Regions from separate parts of the Homo sapiens genome. Here region 2 is linked to region 1. The links are contacts of gene promoters, found by promoter capture Hi-C in blood cells and fetal thymus (Javierre and others, 2016). All regions are on one chromosome and are shown on one strand. Each heading gives the region's core, a stretch centred on a gene start or on the middle of the fragment in contact. The rest is flanking DNA. Distances are from core to core; before and after follow the strand shown.

Evidence for each region. Contacts are between HindIII fragments. The CHiCAGO score rates a contact against its expected background, and 5 or more counts as called.
Region 2: a contact is called between the fragment with the promoter of KICS2 here and the fragment with the promoter of TWF1 in region 1, in 1 of 17 cell types (total B cells). The highest score is 7.2, in total B cells.

Annotation. Positions count from the first base shown.
Region 1 is chr12:43,804,382-43,809,016 of GRCh38, forward strand. It overlaps TWF1 (twinfilin actin binding protein 1), which reads right to left and starts at 1,936. Exons shown (of 9, transcript NM_002822.5): 1 at 1,840-1,936; 2 at 114-191. The coding sequence starts at 1,864. It also overlaps a transcript of TMEM117 not described here. RefSeq lists a silencer at 1,632-2,111. The HindIII fragment of the contact is 5,668 bases long and covers 781-4,635 here.
Region 2 is chr12:64,220,047-64,224,681 of GRCh38, forward strand. KICS2 (KICSTOR subunit 2) reads right to left here and starts at 2,250. Exons shown (of 3, transcript NM_152440.5): 1 at 1,957-2,250. The coding sequence starts at 2,191. It overlaps LOC124902952 (a long non-coding RNA gene), which reads left to right and starts at 2,303. Exons shown (of 2, transcript XR_007063347.1): 1 at 2,303-2,497. RefSeq lists enhancers at 1,774-1,893, 1,964-2,023, 2,058-2,652, 2,134-2,223, 2,374-2,563 and 1 more. The HindIII fragment of the contact is 7,597 bases long and covers 1-4,635 here.

The sequences.
Region 1 (4,635 bases), core at 686-3,185:
TGAACTTGCTTCATATTAATTAATAGTTCAAATCACTGACAACACACAGTAAGTTTAAAAATACAACAGCCACTAATCCAGGAACAGAAAATATTTTAAAATATTTAACTAACCATTTTCAATAGATATTTTCAGAAGTCTGTACTTTCCATTTCTGGCTCTGGCAAAGATCTCTTTAACATCTTCACTTGCTGTGGAAAAAGATAAAGAAAGTAAACTTTTTATACTTACATATAAATACTTTCCTATCTATATTGGAAAAGTTAATTAGAATACAAAGAAAAAATCTGGAGCATGTAGCATCCTTATTATCAGTATTATAAAACTTTACCGCATAAAATAACGAAGACTGTATACAATTAAGAAATATAAATATTAGCATTTTAAAAGTATGTTAATAATTCTAATCTGTTTTAGCTACATAATTCTGTGCAGAAATAACACTGGGGTGAATATACTGAAGTTACTCAAACCCAATAATGAGCAAATTACAATTTTGAAAAACTTTTCTTGCTCTTTTGAAAAATATTGAAAACCTGCTTTCATTCTCTAATTCAGTTTCAAGCTTATGACAGACACTCCTTCATCAATTCACTTTCTGTATTTTCCCGTTAAAAACAACAGTATATATCAAATATCCTAACTTGTTTAAAGAAAAAGACAATAAAATGCATTCAGTCTTAACTCTGGTTATATTTTTCTAACTTGCATTTCTCAAAAGCTAGATTAAACTCATTGAATAAATATGTATTTAATAACTAACCCTTGTGTTCCTATTAAAGCTTCAATTTCGTTCTAATTTCGTTCCTGTGTTGTCTATTAGCAGCAAGAACCACTATGTAAGTAGGTAGTGCTTGCTATAAGGCTCAAGCATGAGAGTCAATAACTACATATTTATATATCGAAATTAATGCGGATAAATAAAACAAAGTTTTCAGATTTGAGACTATTTTGCTTCTGCGTGCGTGCAGGGGGATGTGTGCGGTGGTGTCAAAAATCTTTACGAATAAAACATACAATTAAGTGTTCATCTGGGAGAAAGACTCGCTATTAACAGTAAGAGCTTGAGTTTACACTAGAACTCGTTAAGTGATCGCGAGTAACCCGGGGATATATTATTTGACTCTTGATGAGGTGAGTACCTGCAGGCTGCCCAATTTCAAACCAGGAAATAATGGAGGTCAGATATAACTGCATATTGAACTGTCTGCACGCATTACATGCAACCATACAGATCAGTTTCCCTTGGGGAGTATCTAGGAAAAAGATCAAAACACACGCTTACACTCGAGATTTCTCAGAACATAACTCTCATTTTCCTATTTGGAGAGAAAATGCGGGAGAGTTTTGGGAAGCACCCCTACTGATGTGAGAAAGATTCTGGCATGGTTCTTTTTGTAATCAAAGTCCTGTAATATTCTCCTTTGGACCATGAAAAAGAAAACTCGCCTGGTTCTCGACAGCGTACTGAAGCCCCAGTCGCCTCCACTGTCCCAGCTCTTCCCTACGTGACCAAAAGGGGGAAAGTTGGGCGACTGTCGGGGACGGTGGAAGGCACGCCCCCTTCAACCAGGCCGCCTCGAAAGCCAATTTCCTTCGCTCCCCCGAATTTCGGATCAATCTGCAACGTGACGGCAGCAGGGACCGGGCTGGAGGAGGACGCAGGCCGGCAGCGCCCGGGAAGCAGGAGCGCGGAGAGGCGCCGAGGCCCGGCTCGCCCCGCGAGACCGACTTCCGGAGCTCCCGGCCCGACTCCAGCCCTGCCGGTCCTGCAGCCCTCCCGGCTCTCCCGGCTCTCCCGGAAGCCCCTTCCCTGCGAGTCGCGCCGGGCGCTGTTACCTTGGATGCCGGTCTGGTGGGACATGGCGGCGGCCGCTAGCTCCCGGCTCCGGCGCTGAGTGCAGCCAGCGGCCCCGGCCGGCGGCCCCAGGAAGTGGCTGCTCCTCCGCCGGCCCCGGCGCGTCATCCGCCCGCGACCCGCGGCCGCCCCGCCCCGTGAGGTTGACTGAGTGCCCGAGCGTCCCCGCCGCCCCGCCGCCCTTCCTGGCCGCCGGGCTGCGGTCCAGCCCCCGGCCTCGCTATCCTAGTTCTCTGCTTGGGGTCCTGCTTCTGCTCTTGCCGCCGCCTCTCCCGCTTCTTCCGGGGGGGACATGCCGCAGAATCTAGACTGCTCAGTGCTCCGACGTCTGCTCTCTGACAACCCCGCCGACGCCGCCATTCGCTGCCTCAGCAAAGGGGTGCTCAAAAACGGAAGTGATCATTTTACCAAATAGGCATTTTCCAGCTTAAAAAAGATGTGCACATTATTTTTCTTGGTTTACTCTTCCTATAATCGATACCGTTTAGTGTAGAAAAGCCTTCTCCTTGCTCCATTGTTTTGAAAGAATTAATATAGACTGCCTCTCATCAAATTTTTCCACGATTTTAAATTAAGTTAATCTCAGACTGTTAACTTTTCTTTTCAGCTGGACACATTTAGAGACTCAGTGTATCTTTCTCTTCACTCCGGAAAGAGACAGCCACTAAGAGATTAGCTGATTTGAGTATCCCTCTGTGGTCGATTATACCATTGCAAATCCTGCTCTGCTTTAGGTTGGCAGTTTATTATTTAATCCAGTAATTATTCAAAATTCACTTGGACAGATTTGTAAGGTAGCAGCAGATATTACTTAAAAATCTTTTCCTTTCCTGCTTTTACAAACATGTAGTTCCTTCCTGAAAGGTAATGTTAGTTTTGTGGGGGGTTTGGTTTTTTTTTGGTACTGCTTCTCTACTGCTACTAGGTGGGAAGCTAGTTCTTATTTTTAGGGCCTTGAAGTGACACATACACAAAATTATAATCTGCTAATGAAGAAATAATTTATTCAGGTCAATAATATAAGTGCAAGTTAATCACTGTTCCAGTACTATACGATGTATTTTTCATGAGTGATGAACAGGCCTGCAATTGTTTTTCTTTACAAGAATCACAGCAAACAAGGTTATGTTCTATTGCCTGTTATCTGAGCTCTGTTTTTCAGACATATTCTCATATTCAGGAATAAACTAAATCTGAGTTTTATGACTTGTATGGATTTAAGAAATGTAGGGAGGAGTTTCATTCTAATCAAATTCTTCCTGACACAATGGTTCACCCTGATTTACCAGTTTTTGACTACATTGCTGAGCAGAGAGAAAATTGCAGAGTTGACTTGCAGTATTTTGACTGATTCATGTCCTAGTGCTTCGGGGAAATTGCTTAAGGAAGTTGGCGTTGCTCAAAAGTATAGTTGAGCAAAATATAATCCTTCCATATTCGTGCTTGGGAAAGGCCACTGTATTCTCAGTCCTGAAGAAGAGGAATGTCTAGTTAGGTTGGGACCACCCTGACAGCCACCAGAAAGTGCTTATTTACTGCCAGTACAATAGTTTGACTTAAAAGCTGCAAGCGTCTTGGGTACCTTGCTCTGCTCTAGCCACAAATATTTTCCCACTTTTCTTCATCTATTGTGTCTCCATTTAGTGAACATTTGCCAGAGCTGTCATGAGAATAATACCTTAGATTTGTATGGTAGTTTACAGTTTACAAATAATATATAATAGACTTATTTTGAGTACCAACATCCTGTGTGACGAGCTGAAAAAAATAGCAGGTTTTGTTTTTTAACTTTAAGAGGTTTGGAAATTGAACCACAGAGTTGGGAAGTCAGCAGGTTTCAAGGCTAAGACAAGTGTCTGTAAGAAACAAACCATTTGAAAACAATGTATGCAGATAAGAGGGTTTATTATAAGGATATTGGAGGATCTTATAGATCTTGACAACTTGGTTGTCACCTCTGCTTTTCTCTTCTTTTTCTCCAAATAAGATCTCTCTGCTTGTGCAGTCAAAATGGCTGAATATGGCTACCCTACACTTTCCAAATTGACAGGGTTGTAGCTGCATGCAGAGATTACATAGCTCTTCTAAGTCCAAGTTTAAAGTTCCTAAGAGAAAGCACGTGAATGACCCTGCTTGGCTTGTGTCAAATCATTCTTGGCCAAGGTGGCTGGTTTACCCAATATACACTGCCCATGAGTGAAAGGCAATTATCACAGGAGGGGAGATGGATCTTGGGTGTGGGAAACAGGTGTAGAATTCCTACTTTTTACAGTTTGGTAGAGGTAATGTTTAGAACCTAAGATGGTGGTCACAAAACACAAATGCTTATGGGGTCAGTTAAATAACATAAATGAATGAAGCTAATAAATGGAGACTGTGGCAATGAGAGGGAGCACAGGATCCATCTAAAATGAGCTACTACTAGGCCAAGTGGGATGGCTGACACCTGTAGTCCCAGCTCTCAGGAGGCTGATGTGGGAGGATCACTTGAGTCCAGGAGGTAGAGGCTGCAATGAGCCATGATCACCCCACTACACTCCAGCCTGGGCAACAGACCCTGTCTCAAAGGGGAGAAAAAAAAAAAAAAAAAAAAAAAGGAGCTACTACTACTCAATTCAATTCTGACTGACTGATGCTCTGTGGGAATTCAAGCGCAAGGTGACCAATCTTATGTTTTGCAAGTGATGTCGGAAACTGGGATTTTATGTAAAATCTCTATTTCAATTATGTAGGAAAACAAAACAAAAAGAGAACTATAACTGCAAGTCAGGTTTGAC
Region 2 (4,635 bases), core at 1,000-3,499, about 20 Mb after region 1:
AATTTAAATTCTGGAACTTATGTTTACTGTACGTGTAAATAAGTTATGAAGCATTAAATATACCATTTTCAGAATATTTACTCAGAAATGAGGAGCCCACCTAGGAACGTAACAGTGCCTGGGCATGTTTCACAGCACCAAATGTTGTATAGGTCAGTTTCAAGGCATAGTCCTCATGCTCACCCATGCCAGCTGGGGTTCAAGCAGAACTAATCAATTTACACATTGAGGACCACTTTACAGAACCCAAGTCAGAGACAGTGAAGATCTTATACACACATTCTTACACACAGGGCAGCCAGTTCTGTTTACGTAAAAACCTGGCTCATTCAACTTAAAACTAGAGTAGCAGATTTTTTTAAATGGAGTCAATAAATAGACTTTAGAAAATTCAACTGAACCCACTCAGGTTATACGCAAAATTATATGTACATATATATTTTTCTGGAGAGTAAGTACACAGCTTTCATCAAATTTCCATGGATAAGTTAATAAAAAAAAAAAGCAAAGAATCATGGCACTTGAATCAGTCACCATTCTTTGAGGTGGGGGAGTCTAAAAACAACTGAAACTGCCTAAATATTACCTACCTTCAGTATTACAGCTAGAATCCACCCCATTTTCACATATATAAAAAACATATATCTGTATATATTATACATAAATTATAATTTTCATACACATTTTTAATAAGTTATATGAATGCAAACTCAATCTGAGAGTACAAGGGCAGATATTTTGGTTTCGACTCTATCATCTACCCAACATAACTGCATATATAATTTGCTAATCTATAGAAAGGGGAATAATAACACCATAGCAGCAACTGCAAATTTGTGAGAAATGCCATTGTAAAAAGGGGAGGAAAAAAATAAGGTGAAACTATCTGACCAGTTTTTGCTAATAAATTAGCATACTAAATAAGTATGTATAAATCAACATACTTGCTACAGCAATTACGAACTCAGGAAGCCCTGTCTCTTGAGTGTTTACTGAAAGCTCAATAAGATGTACATGGTCACCTTCAGGCAATATAAGGAAAGTAGGGGGCTGGTTAGGGAACGGGGGGGGGTGGATCAAAATGAAATCTACACCAATTTTACATTTCTATTCTCTGTATTTTATATACGTGTCCTTCATTCACATCAGACCTCACGCTTCTGAAAATTGAAGAGTCTAAAACAGGTCAAAGTACTGACTCTGAAACCCCTAGGATTCAAATATATTTATTTGTCATAATTAAGCAGTAATATTATTTTGTATGCATATTCCATGCCTTTTACATCTATTATTTCCTTCTCATCTACTTATACTTATTGCTTCTACTAGTAAAAATCAGTTGAATCAGCTCTTGAATCTTATTTCAGAGGCAAGATGTACATGAAGTGCTAAGAGTGTTTACCATTTTCCCCTTAAGTCTCTTCTTGCTAGTGTTAGGCATATTTCTTGCCTTTCCTGCCCAATATTCATTTATTACTTTAGTCATTAAATATGTATTGGGGGACTATGAAGACGGGGTAGGACTCTAAATGTGACTCTCGGGCCTTAACCTTAAGAGGCCACACAACAGTGTTCAGTAATAGAACTAGGTTGTTTTGCAAAGTTTTGCTCTTCTGGCTGCAGCGTCACTAATTAAAACAATGAAGACATAGTTTGGTTAACTTCTCATTTATGGCATCAATCCATGCACGAGGCAAAAGGGCAAACCCTTCGGTTTGGGTCACAGCCCTGCAAAGAGCATCTACCCAGTTCGCCAATCTATCAGCAGCGCAGGCCGGTGGGCGGGGCTTGTGGAAGCCCAGGGAAGGAAAGGAACGGTGGGAGGAGATCTGGGAATGCCGAGTCGAGCCTGCGACTAGAAGTGACACAGAGACGGGAAACCCAAGCCACTGCCGACTGGGGAATATACCCCCTTTACTTCCTCCTCAAGGGGCTCGGGGGGCGGGGCGGAGGTACCTAGTTTCTGCCCCAGGTAGGTGAGGCTGTGATAGACCTTCTCGGCCGCGGCCAGGTGCGCCAAGGCCGCCAGCAGCGACAGCCAGCTGCCCCCCGCGCTCTTGTTGGCCTCTCGTTCCTTCTCCACATTGTCCTTAGCCTTGTCGTAAGAGAAGATACCCAGGTGAGAGAAGAACGTCTCCAGCACCGCCTGTTCCACCGGGACCGGGGCGGCCAGCGGGATAGACTCCCCCATGCGAGCTGCGCCCCAGCTCGACCCACGTGGCTCTCCTCGGCCTCGCACTTCCGGGTTCTGAGGGAACGGGCTTGCGCACAAGCGTGCGTGCGCGTGACCGCCTCCACCGGCGGACTCGTGAGCGCGCCGCTGCCGGGACCGCTCCTGGGCCTTAGAGAAGACGCGGATAAGGGCCAAGGAAAGAGGGAGGTAGCGGTTGCTGAGCTCCTTCGGCGCTTCGGCTCCTGTAGCTCTGACTATTCGGACCGTCAAGGTAGAATAGGAGGCGGCCAGTTCCCCGCTCTAAGAAGTTGCCTGCGCTCTGAGGTGAGCTGACAGGCCCCTCTCTGTGTGGTTCGTCAGCGCTGGTGACGTCATGCAAACGTGACGTCAGCCCTGGCCAGAACATCTGGCCTGGGCTCTCCAGGCACCTCGCTGGGCCGGCTGGGAGATGGGGAAGTGCCTGGAGTTGTGCCCACACTCACAGCAGGGACCCTAGTCAGCCCTGACACCTTCTACACCAACTCATGGAAGTGATTTGCTGAGATTAGAAGACTGACGGGTAAAGGTTGATCTCCTTCCCATTGCCTAGTTTTCATCACATCACACACCACCGGTTAACTCTCACCTGTATCCCGTTCTAGTTCTCCCGGGTCTGTGTTAGCCCTGCAACTAATAAGTAGAGCCCCTGGCCCAAACTGCATTAACCTTCCTTAAAAAGTTATCTTTTTTTTTTCTTTTTTTTTGAGACGGAGTCTCGCTCTGTCGCCCAGACTGGAGTGCAGTGGTGAGATCTCGGCCCACTGCAGCCTCCACCTCCCGAGTTCAAACGATTTTCCTGCCTCAACCTCCCTAGTAGCTGGGATTACAGGCCAGCGCCACCACACCTGGCTAATTTTCGTATTTTTAATAGAAACAGGGTTTCACCATGTTAGCCAGGCTGGTCTCAAACTCCTGGCTCAAGCAATCTTCCCACCTCAGCCTCCCAAAGTTTTGGGATTACAGGTGTGAGCCACCACCCCTGGCCAGAATGAAGAATACATTAATGTAAATTGTGCACGTTGTCATTTAGAATAATTACAAGTTCCTTTGGCATTTAAGAAACCCCATGAACCCGGCTCATACTTGTATGTCCACTACTTTGAAACACTACCCACTACTCAATAGTTTTTTCCTTTCTTCTTTGTGCATACTTATTTTATGCTTCTTAGTCACACTATTTAATCGCATATATTTACATATCTCTTTCCCCAAGTGGTGAGATCCCTAGGGTACAGTAGGGTTCACTTACAGTTATAATCTTTTCATATTGGACGGCGCAGCCATGTTTGTTGAACAAATGAGAGAATTGCCTATTTTCGTTTTTTCTCAAACTAGAGCTGTTCTGCCATCATCACTACCTTTTAAAGGAAATCCCACTAATCTAATTTTAATGAATAGGTATTGTGCACCTGTTCCCTATACTCAAGAATGTAATTGGATAAGATCAACCCTGTTAACAATGATACAAGGCAGTTTTTTTTTTTTTTGGTTGTTTTATTTTGTTTTGTTTTTGGACAGGGTCTCACTCTTTCCCCCAGGCTGGAGTTTTCCCCAGGCTGGAGTGCAGTGGCATGACCTCGGCTCACCGCAACCTCCGCTTTCCAGGCTTTAGTGATTCTCCTGCCTCAGCCTCTGGAGTAGCTGGGATTACAGGCCAGTGCCACCACACCTGGCTAATTTTCGTATTTTTAACAGAATTGGGGTTTACACCATGTTGGCCAGGCTGGTCTTAAAATCCTGACTTCAAATGGTCTGCCCGCCTCGGACTCCCAAAGTGCTGGGATTACAGGCATGAGCCACTGCGCCCAGCTTCAAGGAAGATTTTTTTTTTTTTTTTTTTTTTGAGACAGAGTTTTGGTCTTGTTGCCCAGGCTGGAGTGCAGTGGAGCCATCTCAGCTCACTGCAACCTCCACCTGCCGGATTCAAGTGATTTTCCTGCCTAAGGCCAGCCTCCAGAGTAGCTAGGATTACAGGCATGTGCCACCACGCCCTGCTAATTTTGTATTTTTAGCAGAGACGGGGTTTCTGCATGTTGGTCAGGCAGGTCTGGAACTCCCGACCTCAGGTGATCCTCCCGCCTCAGCCTCCCAAAGTACTGGGATTGCAGGCGTGAGCCACCGCGCCTGGCCAAGGCAGATTTTTAAACATGACAAAGGTGAAAGACAGAGAGTGAAGGGAGCAATCATACCATTTTGGAAGAATTAAGGAGGCTTCCTGGAGGAGAGTGTGATGATTCTTGATGAATAAATAGAGGTAATCAAAAAAAAGTGTGGTACTATCACCAAAACCAATAGACAATAAAAGAGATTATAAAACTCATAAACATACCCACATAATATAAGAATTCCTTAGGTAATGAAGGTGACATTATAAATTAGTGGGGAAGAAACATACTCAATTAGTAGTGAAGGAAATATGCTTA